2 separate regions of the Homo sapiens genome follow, and region 1 is linked to region 2. The links are contacts of gene promoters, found by promoter capture Hi-C in blood cells and fetal thymus (Javierre and others, 2016). All regions are on one chromosome and are shown on one strand. Each heading gives the region's core, a stretch centred on a gene start or on the middle of the fragment in contact. The rest is flanking DNA. Distances are from core to core; before and after follow the strand shown.

Evidence for each region. The method cuts DNA at HindIII sites, captures the fragments that hold promoters and counts their contacts. A CHiCAGO score of 5 or more calls a contact.
Region 1: a fragment that was not itself captured here is called in contact with the fragment with the promoter of CD302 in region 2 in 1 of 17 cell types (M2 macrophages); the score reaches 5.4 in M2 macrophages.

The regions. Positions count from the first base shown.
Region 1 is chr2:159,554,286-159,558,466 of GRCh38, reverse strand. It overlaps BAZ2B (bromodomain adjacent to zinc finger domain 2B), which reads left to right. Exons shown (of 37, transcript NM_013450.4): 2 at 2,602-2,644. Among named protein-coding and RNA genes, the nearest start is that of BAZ2B-AS1, 59 kb to the left of the region's middle. The HindIII fragment of the contact is 2,117 bases long and covers 553-2,669 here.
Region 2 is chr2:159,796,444-159,800,416 of GRCh38, reverse strand. CD302 (CD302 molecule) reads left to right here and starts at 2,209. Exons shown (of 6, transcript NM_014880.5): 1 at 2,209-2,285. The coding sequence starts at 2,219. All of the region lies in intron 33 of LY75-CD302 (LY75-CD302 readthrough), which reads left to right. LOC124906083 (a long non-coding RNA gene) reads right to left here. Exons shown (of 2, transcript XR_007087273.1): 1 at 2,465-3,973; 2 at 165-1,598. The HindIII fragment of the contact is 1,931 bases long and covers 927-2,857 here.

The sequences.
Region 1 (4,181 bases), core at 362-2,861, 240 kb after region 2:
CCAACAGGGAGAAACCCCGTCTCTACTAAAAATACAAAAAAAATTAGCCAGGCATGGTGGCGCATGCCTGTAATCCCAGCTACTCGGAAGGCTGAGGCGGGAGAATTGCTTGAACCTGGGAGGTGGAGGTTGCGGTGAGCTGAGATCGCGCCATTGCACTCCAGCCTGGGCAACAAGAGCAAAATTCCATCTCAAAAAATAAATAAATAAATAAATAAATTTCTACCTGCTGGTGGGAAGCGTCTTCATTTGAATGGCCTATGGTGACACTGGCCTGTCCTATTGTTCTAAATAAAAGTCACCCCACCCTGCCACTTCAGATTTCTTTCATTATGTGAGTGAGAATCTTTGAAGTAATCTTTCACTTTTTTGCTATCCTTGTTCCTAATACTTAGTTTAGCATGAAGCCTTCTGGTTTCACCATTTAAGATTTGGGTTTCCCATTCCCTCTGCATTTCCTCTTCTTCACTATCCAGACCCTCATTATCATACACCTTTAATTCACTACCCGCGCTTTCCCATCACCCCCTGCCTTGCTTTTTTTTTTAAGCTTCCCAAATGCTTCTTGCAGTGACTTAAAAACGTATACCAAGTTGTTATGGCATATTTTCTTTAAATAGATAGTAATTCTTGAAGAGTTTTTATTTAAACTTTCTTTTGGATCCTTTGTAGCTCTTGACATAATGCTGGATGCAGTAGGAACTTGATAAATACTTGTTCACTCATTCATTCAGTAGCTAATTAGCTATTGGGTTCCAGGTACTAAACTTGTGCTCCAGTGATCTTCCTTCATGGAGTTAAAGCTAACAGCAGCCTCTGGTGGTAAAGGAAGGCCTCTCTAAGGAGGTGGCGTTTGTTATGAGACCCGATTGAAGTGAGAAAACCAGTCCTATGAAGATATGGAGAACAATTGCTCCAGGCAGAGGGAAGAGCAAGTGTCAAGGCCCTGAAGTGGAACAAATTTGATATGTTTGGGGATTATCAAAAGGGTGATTGTGACTGGAACATGGTAGAAGCAGGAAATGCAGTCAGGGCACCAGGTAACAGAGGGCCTAAGAGGTCATGATAATAAGTATTGTGGGTTTTATTCTAAGAGCTGCTAAAGCCATTGTACAATTTTGAGTAAGGGAATGATGTGATCTGATTAACTTGCTTTAAGAACAGAGGTAGGTACTTGAGACCGGGAGTTTGAGACCAGCCTGGGCAACATGGTGAGACCCCGTATCTCAAAAAAAAAAAAAAAAAATTAATTAGCCAGGTGTAGTGACACACACCTGTAGTCCCCAGCTACTCAGGAGGCTGAGGCAGGGAAAAAAAAAAAAAAAGAATAGAAGTAGGGAGGCTATAATGGTAACATAGGAGAGCCAGTAATCATGAAGTAGTAAGGTAAAATTAAGGATAGAGTGACGAAGAGTAGTTGGTAGGACAGACTAGGTGAAAGGTCTGAGGTAAAAGAGAAACCAGGAAAAATTCAGTTCTTTGTGCTTAGACAAGTCATGTATCATTTCTAAATTCTGTTTTCCTGGAGTCTATAATAAGGAATATCTCTTTCCTGCCCCTTTGAAGGATTCGTTATGAGGACCTGATAAAATAATACATGAAAGTCCATTATGAACCTTAAAATGCCATAACCATGTGTTACTTTTTGATACTAAACATTTAAGGGCTCATCTCAAATTAGACCTTGTTAATAAAGAAATTTCCAGGCTAGGTCCGGTGGCTCATGCCTGTAATCCCAGCACTTTGGGAGGTCAAAGTAGGTGGATCACTTGAGGCCAGGAGTTTGAGAACAGGCTGGCCAACATAGCGAAACACTGTCTCTACAAAAAATACAAAAAGTTAGCTGGGTGTGGTGGTGCACACTTGTAGTCCCATCTGCACAGGAGGCTGAGGCACAAAAATCGCTTGAACCCAAGAGGCAGAGGTTGCAGTGAGCCACGATCGCGCCACTGCACTCCAGCCTGGGTGAGATTGAGACTCTGTCTCGAAAAAACAACAAAAAATTCCAAAAATTAAGATTTCACAGGGATAAACTTGAAGCCATTTACAGTTTAGGAAATAGTTTTTTCCTGTTCTAAATTCTTCCCAGTGATATTTTCAATCTTTTGATAATTTTGTCGCTATTCATAAATATTAGCATGTGGTAATGTCTCCAGTATTAAGTAGATGACATTTTGGTTCTAATCTGTACTGATAATCATAGACAGAAAAGTATTTATAAATAATACCTAATTGTCTTCAGTTTGTGACGTATTTAAGACATTGTTTTTCTCTTCTGAGTACGTAATTTGAAGACAAATAAAACTTGTAACCCAAATGTCCTACAGCTTGTTTTTTAATATGTTATGTTCACCCTAGGGTGTTGGTGATTATAAACAAAAACATGATCTGCCATACTATAATAAATAATGATCTATAAATAAACTCCAGTCCTTTTATGCTTATTTTTGTCATACTGATTATATGGACCCTGATACCGTAGGTTAATTTCAATATGACTTACAGCATGAAGAAAGACACAAATTTTAAACAAACTTTTTAGTTTCTGAAATTTCTTAAGTATGCTTCAGCTGATTGCTAATTCTTGTTTTCCTATTGCAGGTTTCCCAACAGTGATGTCACAAGATTGACCACATTGATCACAGTAAGACCAAAATGATAGTTAAGCTTTTAAGGAAGTTTGGTTTTCTCTGAGAATGAGAATTGACTTAGAAAACATATATAATTTGAAATTATTATTTCTTTTGCTAGCCAGTTGAATGTTAACATTTTAAATGAATCATATCTTATACTTCTAGCTAGTTATTTAAATACTTTTAAAATATTACTTTAAAGGATTTAAAAAACATTTAAAATGAAAATTACTTTTAATTTACAACTGAAATTACAGGCCTAAATATACTAAATTATTTCAGTGTGACTTAAATTCTGAACGTCATCTTTTTTGAGTTTTTATTTTTACCAGAAAATGACAGAAAGGTTAAGGTGATTCCACATTAGGAAATATATATAAAAGTAAATTACTTGAGATTGTAATGAATTATTAAGGAAAGATTATGAAAATGTAGCCTTGGTAGGCTGGGCGCGGTGGCTCACGCCTGTAATCCCAGCACTTTGGGAGGCCGAGGTGGGTGGATCAGCTGAGGTCAGGAGTTCGAGACTAGCCTGGCCAACATGGTAAAACCCCGACTCTACTAAAAATACAAAAATAGCTGGGCATGGTGGCACACACCTGTAATCCCAGCTACTCGGGAGGCTGAAGCAGGAGAATCACTTGAACCCGGGAGGTGGAGGTTGCAGTGAGCTGAGATTGTGCCACTGCCCTCCAACCTGGGCAATAGAGAGACTCCATCTCTAAAAAAAAAAAAAAAAAAAATACACACACACACACACACACCCCCCACATACACCACATACCACATATATATAGCCTTGGTAGAGTTTTTAGGCATCTTGCTTAAATTTTTTATTGATATTTATAGGATTTATAGAGTCTTCCAGATATGGAGAGTTTTTTGATAAAAGGATGGTTCTCTTAAGTAACTGATACTTTTTAATTTTATTTTAAGTGTTAATTTCTGTTGTGTGTAAGGACATATATTACCTAAAGAAAAACTTTTCCAGGGCCTTTATCCACATTAGAAAATTCTAAGTGATAAAATCTGAATTACAATCATGAACTTTATATCATTTTTGAAAAATTCTCTTAAATAACAGATAAATAAATTTCTACCAAATTATTTACTCCATGATCCTGCTTCTTCAACTGTTTTAATTTAACTCATTAAATCCAGAAGCATTAATTATTAGAAGTATAAATTCACATATCAATAATGTTTTTATTTATGTTCAATCTTTTTTTTTTGAAAACTGGTTCATTTGTTAAGTTTAACATTTTGCAGAGACTAGAGAGAAATTTTATTTATTTTTAAAGGCTTTATCATCATAATTTTGTCTACTAATGCTTATAGCATATTTTATTCATTTTCCTGAGGCAGCATTTTAGCTTTCTTTGATTTGTAGCTCTTTCCTTGTTTATTTTTTCTTAATTAGAACTTTATTGCCCTAACTGAATATTTTATAATAAAATATTGACATATTTCTATAGAAACCTTCTGTTTAGCATCTAGTGCTTTACAATCAAGGAAGTTAACATTAGCATTAAATGAAACCTTTTTTAA
Region 2 (3,973 bases), core at 960-3,459:
TCTCTGTGAGCCCACGGGGGAATCACATCCCTTCTTTGGGTCACTCAATTTCCTTACTAGTACCACTTCTAACACTCTATGACTCTCCTTATAGACCCCTTGGGTCAAATTTCCTTGGTGTAACCACTCTGGATTATCAGAAGTGTGGAAAGGGTTAGAAAGAGTTGGAAAGGGTCAGATTTTATTTTTTTAAAAATAGACTAATTTTTGAGCAGTTTTAGATGTATACAAAAAATGTAGCAGAAGGTACAGAGCTCCCATGTACCTCCTTACACATACCCCAGTTTCCCCAATTATTAACATCTTGCATTAGCAGGTACATTTGTTACAGTGGATGAGCCAATATTGACACATTATTAACTAAAGTCCATTGTCCACACTAGGGTTCATCTTCGTTTTGTGCATTCTATGGGTTTTGACACATGTATAGTGATACACATCTACCATTACAGTATCCTACAGAATAATTTCATGGCTCTAAAAATCCTCTGTGTTCCATCTATTCATCCCCTCCTTCTTCCCACCCCAACCCCTGGCAACCATTTATCTTTTTACTGTCTCCATAGTTTTGCCTTGTCTAAAATGTCATATAGTTGGAATCATATAGTATGCAGTCTTTTCAGATTGGCTTCTTTCTCTTAGCAATACATATTTAAAGTTCTTCCATGTCTTTTTGTGGCTTGATAGCTCATTTAATTTTGGTACTGAGTAACATTTCATTGTTTGGATGTGCCATTGTTTATCCATTCACTTATTGAAGGACATCTTGTTTGCCTCTAGGTTCTGGCAATTATGAATAAAGCTGCTATCAACATTCATGTGCAGGTTTTTGTGTGTATGTAAGTTTTTAACTCATTTGGATAAATACCAAGGAGTTGTGATTGCTAGATGGTATGGTAAGAGTACGTTTAGTTTTGGAAGAAGCTTCCAAATTGTCTTCCAAAGTGGCTGTACCATTTTGCATTTGCACCAGCATTGAATGAGAGTTCTTTTTGCTCCACATCTTTGCCAGCATGTGGTCTTGTCAGTGTTTTTGGATTCTGGTATCTAATAGGTATGTAGTGGTATTTCATTTTTGTTTTCATATACAATTCAGCAATGACATATGATGTTGAGCATCTTTTCATCTATTTGCCATTATATAACTTCTTTGATGACGTGTGTATTCAGATCATCTGACCATTTTTTTTAACTGGGTCATTTGTTTTCACGTTGTTGAGTTTAGACTTGATTTTATAGAACTCTTTTGCCAATGACATGAGGCTTAAACAAGCACCCTTGCTTGACCCTGGCTAGTGTTGTCCAGAGGCCCTCATGGGTGAAGTATAATTGCACAGTTTATGCATACATTGTAGCAAACATAGCTTAAAGACTCTTCATCCAGGAGCTGGTAACAGAGAAAAGTTGTCTAAGAGACATAGTCCACTGAAAGGGGTCTTTGAAAAGGAGGATTCTGGCCAGTAGATCCAAAGAAGAAGGCTGGCAAACGCCACCTTAACCAACTGATCCAAGTTAACATCAGTGATGAGACATCGACATCTTGTCCTTCTCGAGCACGTACATCACTTCTGGGGAACTCTTTCCCAAAAAAGCGCAACCTGAATCCAATTAGAAGGAAATGTCAGACAAAATGAAACTGAGGGACATTCTACAAAACGACTGGCCAGTACTTTTTAAATGTGGTTTGATCGTGAAAGAAAAAGAATGACAGAGAACCGTCCTAGATTAAAGGGAGACTAAGGAGACACGACATGCAATGTATGATCCTGGATTGAATCTTGGAACAGAAAAGGACCCTTAGAGGGGCAATTAATGAAATGTGGTAAGTGCTGTAGATTAGCTAATCGCATTATCCCAGTGCGAGTGCCCTGTGTTTGATCACTGCACTGGCGTTATATACAATGTCAATATTTAGAGAAGCTGGCTGAAGGGTTACGGAAATCTCTTGTGCTGTTTTTGCAACATTTTCGAAAGTCCTAAATTATTTCAATTCAAATGAAAAGTTTAAAAAACAAAAATTAGAAGTTCCAGAAGGCCGCGCGCCAGCCGCTCCTGCGGGACGGGACACCCGGGTTCTCCTGGTGGGAGCCCCCAGTGCCGTTCACGTTCCGCCCGGGGGGGGGATTAAACTCGCACGCGAGAAGCACCGCCCCCGCTCCCGCCCCGCCCCGCTCCTCTCCGGCCGCGCAGCCGCTGCCGCCCACCCGCACCCGCCGTCATGCTCCGGGCCGCGCTGCCCGCGCTCCTGCTGCCGTTGCTGGGCCTCGCCGCTGCTGCCGTCGCGGGTAAGCCCTTACGTAGTCCCTCGCCGGGACCGTGCGCGACCGCCTTCGCCCCCTTCCCAACGCACGCTCTTCGTCCCCGCGCACCCGAGGGCGGCCCGCAGACGCAACACCCGGCCGGCCATCCCGCCCTTCCCTGCACGCCCGTCCCCCGTGGGTCCTGGCTCCGGGTCACCTCTCACCCGCCTGCCCTCGGGGAGGGGAGGTGGCCGAGAATAAGGGAGGGCTCTGTCTTCCTCGGAGTCCACATCCTCACCGCAGACCCCACTCCGCGGGGAGGGAACCCCCAAATTAGGCCAGTTGGCCGGAGAACTGAGGGACTTGGAGTCGCACGACGGGCGCCGTTTCAGGGCAATTTCGGGCTGAAATGAGAAGCGGGGACGTTGGTGGCGATTTCCCCTGCTGGTGCGCGGCCGGAGTGGGGTTGCTGGGATGGGGGTGGGGGCCGGAGGAAGTAGGCCCTCTTTTGCAAGCAGCGCTGTTTGTCTAGTTGGTTGGTGTTCAAGTTGTTTAAACAGGAAAACAGTTCAGCCAAATAACCCCTGGATGGAAGAGGAACGGGAATAGGCAAAGCTTGGATTTCACTGAAATCAAGGAGTTTTAAAGTTCTAGTCTGCTGTTGTGCAAGTGACATCTGAAAAATCACACACGTGATCATTCATTTACAAAACGACTCGTGAGGAAAATGCACAATTCTATTGACCGTGGTCTTTATTTTTAAAAAATTTCCATACAAGCATGTCAAAAATATGTGGATGGGGAGACTCTGGAGAACACAGACTTCCAAAAACACCACTGACTGAATAATTCCAGGAATTAAAGAGCAAAATAAACAAGAACTAAATGAGTACTTGTGTGGGCTTAAATAAAGTGCAAGAGATTTAAATAAAATGCAAGAGATTCCCCCCCCCCACCCCTTGCCCCAGATTTCACTGCGTTTTTATAATAACTGCCTGCTCGAAGTCTACTGACAGGAATATTTCAGTGGACCTCAGTGTTGGAGGCAGCAGCAGCTCAGAACTTGGATACAAACCCAAGGTTCCTTTCTTGAAAACTTCTGTGGACCTGCATTTATGACTGGTTGTGACATCTGCTGCCTATCAAAGGGGCAGAAACAAGATGTGCCCATGTTCACATTGTTCAGACTGGGAACATTAATTTTGTCTAAGACAAAGCTGGGCTGTCTCTGAACCCTCCTTCTGCACACCCTCATTTTGCGAGCCAGTAACATCTCAACTCTCATGTAAACCACCCTCTGCGAGGCTGTGCATTTGTACTTTAGGCTAGTCGAATTTTCTTGTCAGATTTTTCTTTCTTGTCAGACTTTTAAAGAAAATCAGTTTCTAGATTTTGGTATGTCTCTTCTTCAGTGAAGCTGTTTTGACCAGCAATAGAGGGCAAATTTCCCTTTGGAAATTTTTGTGCATTTCCTTTGATAAGTCCAGTGTGGATCAATAGGCTTTTCAAGAGCTTTAGAAAAGTGCATGATGAATAAATTAATGTTAATTAATCAGCTCCTCCCAGTCAGGAAGCTTTAAGGATTAATTTGGAAATGAGTGTGAGCTTTGACCTAGCTAGTTAACCAACTTATCTGCACTTCAGTAAAACAGAGATAATACTTACTCATGGGGCTATTGGGAGCATTAAGTGGGAACTCCACGTCTAGTCCCTATTACAGGCGTGGTTCATCT